Linked DNA regions of Homo sapiens: region 1 is linked to region 2. Evidence: promoter capture Hi-C in 16 types of primary human blood cells and fetal thymus (Javierre and others, 2016). All regions are on one chromosome and are shown on one strand. Each heading gives the region's core, a stretch centred on a gene start or on the middle of the fragment in contact. The rest is flanking DNA. Distances are from core to core; before and after follow the strand shown. Region 1 has its middle 33 kb from the start of MAP9-AS1. Region 2 holds the start of FGB (fibrinogen beta chain).

Region 1 (5,060 bases), core at 44-2,543, 760 kb after region 2:
CTCCTAGTTGCATTCTTTCCTGATAAAAGTGTTCTTCTTTCTAATGCCATTAAATATTTCCCTTGGCTGCAACACTGTATTTTACTGTTTGAACATGCATTAAATATGCCTTCTTTCTTTCTTTCTTTTTTTTTTTGAGACGGAGTCTTGCTCTGTTGCCCAGGCTGGAGTGCAGTGACACAGTCTTGGCTCACTGCAAGCTCTGCCTCCTGGGTTCACGCCATTCTCCTGTCTCAGCCTCCCGAGTAGCTGGGACTACAGGTGCCCACCACCACGCCTGGCTAATTTTTGTATTTTTTAGTACAGACGAGGCTTCACCTTGTTAGCCAGGGTGGTCTCGATCTCCTGACCTCCTGATCCACCTGCCTTGTCCTCCCAAAGTGCTGGGATTACAGGCGTGAGCCACCGTGCCTGGCCCCTTCTGTCTTTATTATAGGAGATATTATTATTTCCGTGATAGTTCAGGAACCAAGTCTCAGAGGAATATAGGGGTGGGTTAGACTGGGTGTTGCTCACTCTTGTGATGAGTTCCAGACAGATGACCCTGTAAAAAGCATTACTGGACCACCCAGAAGGCACAGCCTAAGAAGGCCATCCTTCTGGGAATGTTGCCACACCTTTCAATGAGCTACAGAGCTAACCCATGGTAACAATTGGTATGGAGGCACACTGTCTTATTCTACCTGAGAAACAGGCATAATAAAACTGTAGAATTCCACTTAGCCTGTTGTATCACATACTATTTAGTTTTTTTCCTGAAGCCTACCTACCTTCTCCCTCTCAATTTTTGGATTTTTTTATCAGCTACTCTGTCCTTTTCATTTTTCCTGGACTTTCTCTATTCCTCATTTTTGTTTTTATGAAAGCATGGCCTTTTAAAATGCCCACATATAACACTCTTAAGTTCACCAGATAAAACAATAACAATAATTACAAAAGGTTTCACTTATTGCGAATGCTTTATGTATATTAATACACTGTATAATCTTTGTAGCAAATTCATGATATTAGATTGCTTTTCTTTTTCCCCATTTTACTGAGCTAAACTGAAAATTAGAGAATTAGCAAGTTGTTCAAAGCCACATAGCTAATAAAAGGCAGGATTCAAAGCTTGGTCCAATTGACTCGAGAAGACATGATTTATGGATCCAATAAATAACGAGTGAGTGCATTGGTGATAGAGACACAACAATGACAAAACAGGCTGATCACTCACCTCACAGAGCTTACATTCCTCTGGAGTGTCAAAGAAACATTACACCAGACATATTAAGCAGGGAAGGAAGACTTTATTCAAGACTATTGCAATAGAAGAGAGAGAGAGAGAAAGAGAGAGAGAAAATGAACTCAACTCCCGTAACACAGAACCCTGGAGTGTTTTTCTTATGGGGATGAACAAGTAGAAAAGTATTGGAGGAACTTAAGGTGTCTATGTGGTCAGATCATTTGTGTTGCTAATTTGGCACTTATGGAAGTTAAGCTTCTACCTTACCCCAGAGACTGGAAGATAGGGATGCAATTTTTCTTGATGATTGCACTGCAAAGGAATGAATCCCAGGTACTTAAGAAAGACATTCCTGGATTGTCAAACTGATAAAAGGCTGGGAGAAGATTTACATTTCAAAAGGGCAGAGAAAGAATTTACAACAGCAAATTTTCTACTGTAAATGCTTGAAGAAAAGGAAGATGGGACATCAACAGTCAAGAAGAAATCTGTCTAAAGTTTAGTCAAGCTAAAGAAATCATTAAGATCATCTTGGTCAGGAGAGAGACAAAAATATGTAGTGAATGTCCTATCAAGCAGGATACAGATGTTGCGGTGGGGGAGTTTCTATTTTATGTGGTTATGTGACTTTGTCCTAGTTTCTATCTAGAATAGAGGTTTTAAGCTCCCAGTTCCTGATTTATGGAGAAGCTAGTTGATATTAAGGGGAAATATTTCCTGAAGACAAAAACATTACTACTGACTTGGTCTTTACTAGAATACACACTGCCAGATTGGTTCTCCTGATTTATCCCCTGATCCCAGGGCTTTTCAGCCATTATATTCAATGCACATTATTTTCGGACCATTAGCATAAGCAAATAGGCTACTATTGACCACCCTGACCGTCTTCTCCCACCCCAAGTTTCTATACCATCTAACCCAAGACCTTGTTATAACCGTCTCTTAGATAACATGGCTATCTTCTCGTTCTCCTTAAAGAAAACATCCCAAGGCACTTCAGCTCCCTCCTACCCCTTCCAAATCTGGCATATTTGCCTAATAAGCCTAAATATACAGTGTTCATGTATTCCATTTTCTGGATAATAGCATTATTTATGCAATCTCTAAAAGACAGAAAAGACACTTCAGCACTTTAAAAAGTAATGTCCCCACTTGGGTAATCAAGCAGACTTTTTAGGAGCCCTCTCACTGGCTAAATCCGGAAGAGCAACTGCCTAATAGCAAATGTAATCTCCAGCAGGGCACCTCTATGCCATTATACTATTCTTATTATCCTTTTTTTGTCAAAAAAATTTTACAAAGCTACATTTCAAACATAAGAAGACTGAGGCTTAAAGATTTTTATTCAAGCCACGTAGCTATTAAGCAGGAGAACTGAGATGTAAACCCAGGTTATTTTAATTCCAAAGATGTGTTCTTTGAAATTTTTGTTTCCATTATTACATGCTACTACCAATCAAGTTTTATTTTTGGGGATAGGGGAATAAAACCTAAATATTATGACTTTTATTTGTTCATGGAAAACATAGGCATTTTTAATGATATCGCAATGAAACATAAGAAATATTATTCTGGTCTAATGTAGGGTTTCTCATGGGGTTCAATAATTATTACTGAGTTCTCTATTCAAATGTTCTTTTCATAATAGATCACTTGGGAAAAGGCTAAATGATATCAATTAGTCATTTTTATTTCAACATTAGGAGGAACTATTTTACCAGCTTATTCTTTTCCTTTGTGGCTTTATAGGCTCCATCCATCTTGTTCTCTTTAGAGATAAGAATATTGCAGAAAATGGAGAGTACCACAGGGCAAATTTCAATTACTCTGTGGAATATTAGCTATTTTACCTTGTTTGCTTAAGAGGTTTTTTTTCTGATTAAAGAATTATAATTTAAAAGGCAGAAGTAACTGTTCCTTTCATATTACTTCACAGTTCATCTCTCTTCTCTCTGGGGCTGACTTATGCCCACAAGGCTGATTCTAATTCCTTTTTTTTTTTTTTTTTTTAAGACAGAGTTTCTCTCTTGACACCTAGGCTGGAATGCAATGGCGCAATCTCAGCTGACTGCAACCTCCACCTCCGAGGTTCAAGCAATTCTCCTGCCTCAGCCTCCTGAGTAACTGGGATTACAGGCGCCCGCCACCACACCTGGCTAATTTTTGTATTTTTAGTGGAGATGGGGTTTCACCAAGTTGGCCAGGCTGGTCTCAAACTCCTGAGCTCAAGTGATCCACCCGCCTAGGCTTCCCAAAGTGCTGGAACTATAAGCGTGAGCCACCTTGCCCAGCTGGCAGTTTCTAATTCTTTTCTTGGGGAATAATAGTTGGTGTATCCCTTTGAAAAACTGGTCATGCATCATTGTACTTCTGTCTCCCACCTTTTTACCCTAGAATTTATTCTGAATATTTCAGAAAATTCAGACTACATCTTCTATAGAGGAATGGGGTTTGAAAAATGAAAACCCAGGCACTTGTATAGACATAGGAACATCCAAGATGTACTCATGGAGATAGTGCTGTGGCTGCTATATTTCGGATGCTCTGTTCTGCTGCAGCTATGAGCCTACTGAGGCTTTGAGCCTTACTTGTCATTGGCTTATCCCTGCTCGAATGGGAGTAGAAAGATGTGAGATCCTTAGGGCACCTCAGTGTAGCCCTGCTACACAAGATTCTCCATTATGGCACCAGTTAGAGGGAAAGTGTGAAACTCTCTAACTCAGGAGATATTTAACGATCAGTATCAGTGCTGTGTATTTGAGAGGGTGGCCTCTGGGTTCTTTCAGGAATGGTTGGTTGACATGATTGAATCACACAATTTCACAAGGAGATGGACCGTAAAAGGCTACACAGTACAATCATTGTCAAACTCCAGAACTACTAAAAAAGTCACTCAGGGATGAGAGTTAAACATTCAAATTCCTATATCATATCCTGATAACAATAAGTTTCCCTGGGTGTCTCCAGAGTCTGTCTGGTCATAAACTTCTTAAGTATTTCTTAGTTAGCTCTGAAACTCAAAAAGTATTTGACTAAATGGTGAAATGGTGCAATGTACCTTTAAAAATTTGAAAATGACAACAAATAATTCCTGAATGATTTTATTAATAATAGTCTGCTAAAACCTAACCAGATGTTAACTTCTATAGATTAAAAACTTATTCTGTTTTCTCCTGAATGGATGGATTCCTACCTGATTTGATTTTTCCTTGCACAGACATTCTGTGGCTGTGTCCCTCGTGGGAGGACATGAAAAGATGGCCATTCTAGAGAACAGATTCTGTTGTGGTGAAGGGTACCTTTGCTCCTCTGACTGGATGCAGATATCACAGTCTGTAGGAGGCAAGGAAAGCTCTGCTTTTAGCCTCACTATCCTCTCACCCTTCAAATTCTTGACAGAGTGCATCTGAAAAGTAAAATAATTGTTTCCCTCATGACTGCAGCACAGATGAAATGAAAAAGACTGGCCTTTCCCCGACTCCTGAGTAATTAATTTAGTCTAATGTGTCTGTTCTAGCATCCAAGTACTGCAGCAGTAGGCGCCAGGCATATGTGCAGATAGCTTGAGAGAGATCATGTTATTCAGATAATCTAGTTAGCCCTTGGTCCACCCAATGTTAACAGTGACTTGAAGCTCTCATTCATTATTTAGGCTAACAATATCTTACATGTTAGAGCAAATTTTAGCATTTAACACACTTTCATAAATACTGTCAGGAAGCTGGATATATGGGAGGAAGTTTGTATGACTTGTTTCATGGTCTGACAACCCAGAAAGGGTCAGAGTTGAGACTCAAATGCAAGCCTCGAGACTTCAAATCTAGTTTCCCTC
Region 2 (5,415 bases), core at 1,250-3,749:
ACATGATAATATTCTTTGTAATATTAGGCAATTTAGAGTCCCAGTGTAACTGTACATAACTCTACAGAAAAAAGACATATCTAACAAGAACTAGAATTACAAAAACTCATTATCACTGCATTGCACATGCTTCACACAGACATGAATACTATACCCACATATGAGGGTAAAAAGATAAGTGAAAGTAAAAGCTATGAGTGAGTGTGTCAGCCTGATACATTATGGTCCCAAGATGACAGGCTGGCCAAAATACTCCAAAAGAACAAACACACAAAAAGAAGGTAGAGGTAAATTTTTATAATGTTTGTATCCTGTTGGGAAATATAATGTAATGGGCACAGAGTGTGGACTGTAGAGTCAGACAGTCAGGGGTCAAGTCCTCATACCAGCACCTACTACCTATACACTCTGGGGTAGTTTACTTAACCTCTCTGAACCTGTTTCACCATCTGTAGAACATAGTGGTTTCAAGAATTAAATACGATAAATGACTACCATAATTTGGCATCTGAGGCATGTACCAATGACAGCCAGTTCACTCATTCATCCCGTAATTATGTATTGAACGCCTACTATGTCTGTCTTGCTCACCAATGCATTCCCAGCCCCTATCACACTACCCGTCACTGAGGAGACTCTCAAGAACTATTTGTAAGATGAATGTTAAGTCTGTGCTGTTATGGTGCATGCATGCTGGATTGAATCCATCCTCCTTCTGACCATGGGAAGAATGCCAATCAGAGTAGAACAAAGTAGGAAAGTAAAGGAACCTTCACTTTAGTGTTGAACAAGAGTCTATTATATACTAGAAAAAACTTTACAAATTTACAGACTTCTGAAAGTTAAATGATGATTCTATTGTTAGTTGATCAAACATCAGTCATTGAAAATGTAGTAATACGTTACCTCAAAAGAAAAAAAAAAGGTTAGAGTTTTCTTAACAGATAATTCTTTTTAAATCTGTAAGAATCTGTACGTCACTAAAATAAAATCCTGTCTAGATTATTAAAATAAACTTTGTTATCAGTTATATTTTCATGGAAAATATTCCTGTATATATTTTAATTAATAGCCACATAGATATTTGCTTTTTCTGTCAGATCATGTATCCCTTTAAAAACCATTAAAGCTAAAGAAAAAAATCTTAAAATATAATATTTACTCATTGCTAATAAAGGGAACACAAATTTGGAAAGACTCAAGTGAATATTTTTTCTTAATTTAAACTGAGTACTTTGTCTCTATTAAGCTAAGTTAAAAGAATTTGGGAGGACAACCTATGCTACCAAGAGAATAATTTGTTTCTAGGAATCTGAGTTAAAAGAATTTGGGAATGCAATCTCTGCTACCTGGAGAAGAAAGAAATGTCGTGGGTCCCACACCATTCTCAAGACTCTGTTTCAAAGCATTGTTTCAATACGCTGATCCAAACCCTGATAACCTGCCATCTTTTTAATAAAATAATTTATAAATTTAATGAGAATGTTTCACTTTCCATACAAAAAACAGAAAAATGCTTTGAATCAATGCACTTACTGGGATTTGGATTACTGACTGGTGTTCCTATTGATTCTTGTAGGAGTTATTAATCCTGATTGCAACACACAAGTGAACAGACAAGAGAGATAAATTTTGTGGCTTGTGGGAAATGAAGGAAAATGGGCCTCATTTAGTCTGTGAGCATACTAATTGAAATAGATGTATGAAGACTTCACCAGTGTTAAAATAACATTGTTTTTATAAATCATATGATATAAACTATATAACAATAAAATAGAATGTTAAACATGTATTTAATCATCATCATAATTTTGATTCAGAAATCTATAATTTATTAGTTATCTTAATAATGTTTAGAATTTGTTGAACATTTTACCTTATGTGAATTAAGGACAAAATATTAAAGCTATTCAGCACAAAAAAAGGGTCTTTCTGATGTGTATTTTTCATAGAATAGGGTATGAATTTGTTATTTTGTTATTTTGATTAATGTCTAAAACAAAAGATAAACACATTATGATATAACATTACTATTGATTTTAATGGCCCCTTTTGAAATAGAATTATGTCATTGTCAGAAAACATAAGCATTTATGGTATATCATTAATGAGTCACGATTTTAGTGGTTGCCTTGTGAGTAGGTCAAATTTACTAAGCTTAGATTTGTTTTCTCACATATTCTTTCGGAGCTTGTGTAGTTTCCACATTAATTTACCAGAAACAAGATACACATCTCTCTTTGAGGAGTGCCCTAACTTCCCATCATTTTGTCCAATTAAATGAATTGAAGAAATTTAATGTTTCTAAACTAGACCAACAAAGAATAATAGTTGTATGACAAGTAAATAAGCTTTGCTGGGAAGATGTTGCTTAAATGATAAAATGGTTCAGCCAACAAGTGAACCAAAAATTAAATATTAACTAAGGAAAGGTAACCATTTCTGAAGTCATTCCTAGCAGAGGACTCAGATATATATAGGATTGAAGATCTCTCAGTTAAGTCTACATGAAAAGGATGGTTTCTTGGAGCTTCCACAAACTTAAAACCATGAAACATCTATTATTGCTACTATTGTGTGTTTTTCTAGTTAAGTCCCAAGGTGTCAACGACAATGAGGAGGTGAATTTTTTAAAGCATTATTATATTATTAGTAGTATTATTAATATAAGATGTAACATAATCATATTATGTGCTTATTTTAATGAAATTAGCATTGCTTATAGTTATGAAATGGAATTGTTAACCTCTGACTTATTGTATTTAAAGAATGTTTCATAGTATTTCTTATATAAAAACAAAGTAATTTCTTGTTTTCTAGTTTATCACCTTTGTTTTCTTAAGATGAGGATGGCTTAGCTAATGTAAGATGTGTTTTTCTCACTTGCTATTCTGAGTACTGTGATTTTCATTTACTTCTAGCAATACAGGATTACAATTAAGAGGACAAGATCTGAAAATCTCACAAACTATAAAATAATAAAAGAGCAGAATTTTAAGATAAAAGAAACTGGTGGTAGGTAGATTGTTCTTTGGTGAAGGAAGGTAATATATATTGTTACTGAGATTACTATTTATAAAAATTATAACTAAGCCTAAAAGCAAAATACATCAAGTGTAATGATAGAAAATGAAATATTGCTTTTTTCAGATGAAAAGTTCAAATTAGAGTTAGTGTGTATTGTTATTATTAATAGTTATGAAACACGGTTCAGTCTAATTTATTTATTTGTAGAACAGTTTGTCCTCAACTATTATTTTTGCTGACTTATTGCTGTTAATTTGCAGTTACTAAAAATACAGAAATGCATTTAGGACAATGGATATTTAAGAAATTTAAATTTTATCATCAAACGTATCATGGCCAAATTTCTTACATATAGCATAGTATCATTAAACTAGAAATAAGAATACACAATAATATTTAAATGAAGTGATTCATTTCGGATCATTATTGAGTTTCAAGGGAACTTGAGTGTTGTACTTATCAGACTCTACATGTAAGAACATATAGTTAATCTGGTTGTGTGTGTAAAAACATATGGTTAATCTGGTTAAGTCTGGTTAATCATATTAGGTAAGAAAAATGTAAAGAATGTGTAAGACGAAATTTTTGTAAAGTACTCTGCAAAGCACTTTCACATTTCTGCTTATCAACTAAACCTCACAGAGATAGTTTAATAGTTTAGGCTTTAAAATGGATTTTGATTATTCAACAAGTGGCCTTCATAATTTCTTTAAGTGTTTTTCTTTAAGTATATACTTTCTTTAAATATTTTTTAAAATTTCCTTTTCTCTAGTAAAGCCAGACCATCCATGCTACCTCTCTAGTGGCACTCTGAAATAAAAAGAAAATAGTTTTCTCTGTTATAATTGTATTTGTAATAAGCAGATGAATCACATTTCTTAAAATTTGTTTTAGAGAGGGTAAGCTCTGACTAGGACCATGACTTCAATGTGAAATATGTATATATCCTCCGAATCTTTACATATTAAGAATGTATATAGTCAACTGGTTAAACAGGAAAATCTGGAACCAGCCTGGCTGGGTTTTAATCTTAGCACCATCCTACTAAATGTTAAATAATATTATAATCTAATGAATAAATGACAATGCAATTCCAAATAGAGTTCATCTGATGACTTCTAGACTCACAAAATTGCAAGAGAGCTCAGTTGTTGCTCAGTTGTTCCAAATCATGTCGTTTGTTAATTTGTAATTAAGCTCCAAAGGATGTATAGCTACTGACAAAAAAAAAAATGAGAATGTAGTTAATCCAAATCAAAACTTTCCTATTGCAATGCGTATTTTCTGCTTCATTATCCTTTAATATAATATTTTAAGTTAGCAAGTAATTTTAATTACAATGCACAAGCCTTGAGAATTATTTTAAATATAAGAAAATCATAATGTTTGATAAAGAAATCATGTAAGAAATTTCAAGATAATGGTTTAACAAATAATTTTGTTGATAGAAGATAAGACTAAAAGTGAAATTCGAAGTGGAGAGGACACTTAAACTGTAGTACTTGTTATGTGTGATTCCAGTAAAAATAGTAATGAGCACTTATTATTGCCAAGTACTGTTCTGAGGGTACCATATGCAATAAGTTATTTAATCCTTACAATAATCTTGTAAGGCAGATTCAAACTATCATTACACTTATTTTACAGATGAGAAAACTGGGGCACAGATAAAGCAACTTGCCCAAGGTCTCATAGCTGTAAGTCAACCCTACGGTCAAGACCTACAAGTAGCCGAGCTCCAGAGTACATTATGAGGGTCAAAGATTGTCTTATTACAAATAAATTCCAAGTAGAATCAACCTTTAATAAGTCTTTAATGTCTCTTAAATATGTTTATATAGGAGTCTAATCACCAATTCACAAAAATGAAAGTAGGGAAATGATTAACAATAATCATAGGAATCTAACAATCCAAGTGGCTTGAGAATATTCATTCTTCTTGACAGTATAGATTCTTTACAATTTCGTAAGTTCCAATGTATGTTTTAGGAATATGAGGTCATTACTATTCATAATCTGATACAGCTTTATCCTAAGGCCTCTCTTTAAAAACTACACTGCATCATAGCTTTTTTGTGCAGTTGGTCTTTCTACTGTTACTGAACAGTAAGCAACCTACAGATTCACTATCACCAACCAGCCAGTTGATGGATCTTAAGCAAATTATCAAGCTTGTGATAACCTAAATTATAAAATGAGGGTGTTGGAATAGTTACATTCCAAATCTTCTATAACACTCTGTATTATATTTCTGCCTCATTCCTTGTAGGGTTTCTTCAGTGCCCGTGGTCATCGACCCCTTGACAAGAAGAGAGAAGAGGCTCCCAGCCTGAGGCCTGCCCCACCGCCCATCAGTGGAGGTGGCTATCGGGCTCGTCCAGCCAAAGC

What was found. The method cuts DNA at HindIII sites, captures the fragments that hold promoters and counts their contacts. A CHiCAGO score of 5 or more calls a contact.
Region 1: a contact is called between a fragment that was not itself captured here and the fragment with the promoter of FGB in region 2, in 1 of 17 cell types (activated CD4 T cells). The highest score is 5.3, in activated CD4 T cells.

What each region holds. Positions count from the first base shown.
Region 1 is chr4:155,318,210-155,323,269 of GRCh38, forward strand. No RefSeq gene overlaps it. Among named protein-coding and RNA genes, the nearest start is that of MAP9-AS1, 33 kb to the right of the region's middle. The HindIII fragment of the contact is 370 bases long and covers 1,109-1,478 here.
Region 2 is chr4:154,560,512-154,565,926 of GRCh38, forward strand. It overlaps FGB (fibrinogen beta chain), which reads left to right and starts at 2,500. Exons shown (of 8, transcript NM_005141.5): 1 at 2,500-2,621; 2 at 5,297-5,415. The coding sequence starts at 2,508. The HindIII fragment of the contact is 2,847 bases long and covers 2,350-5,196 here.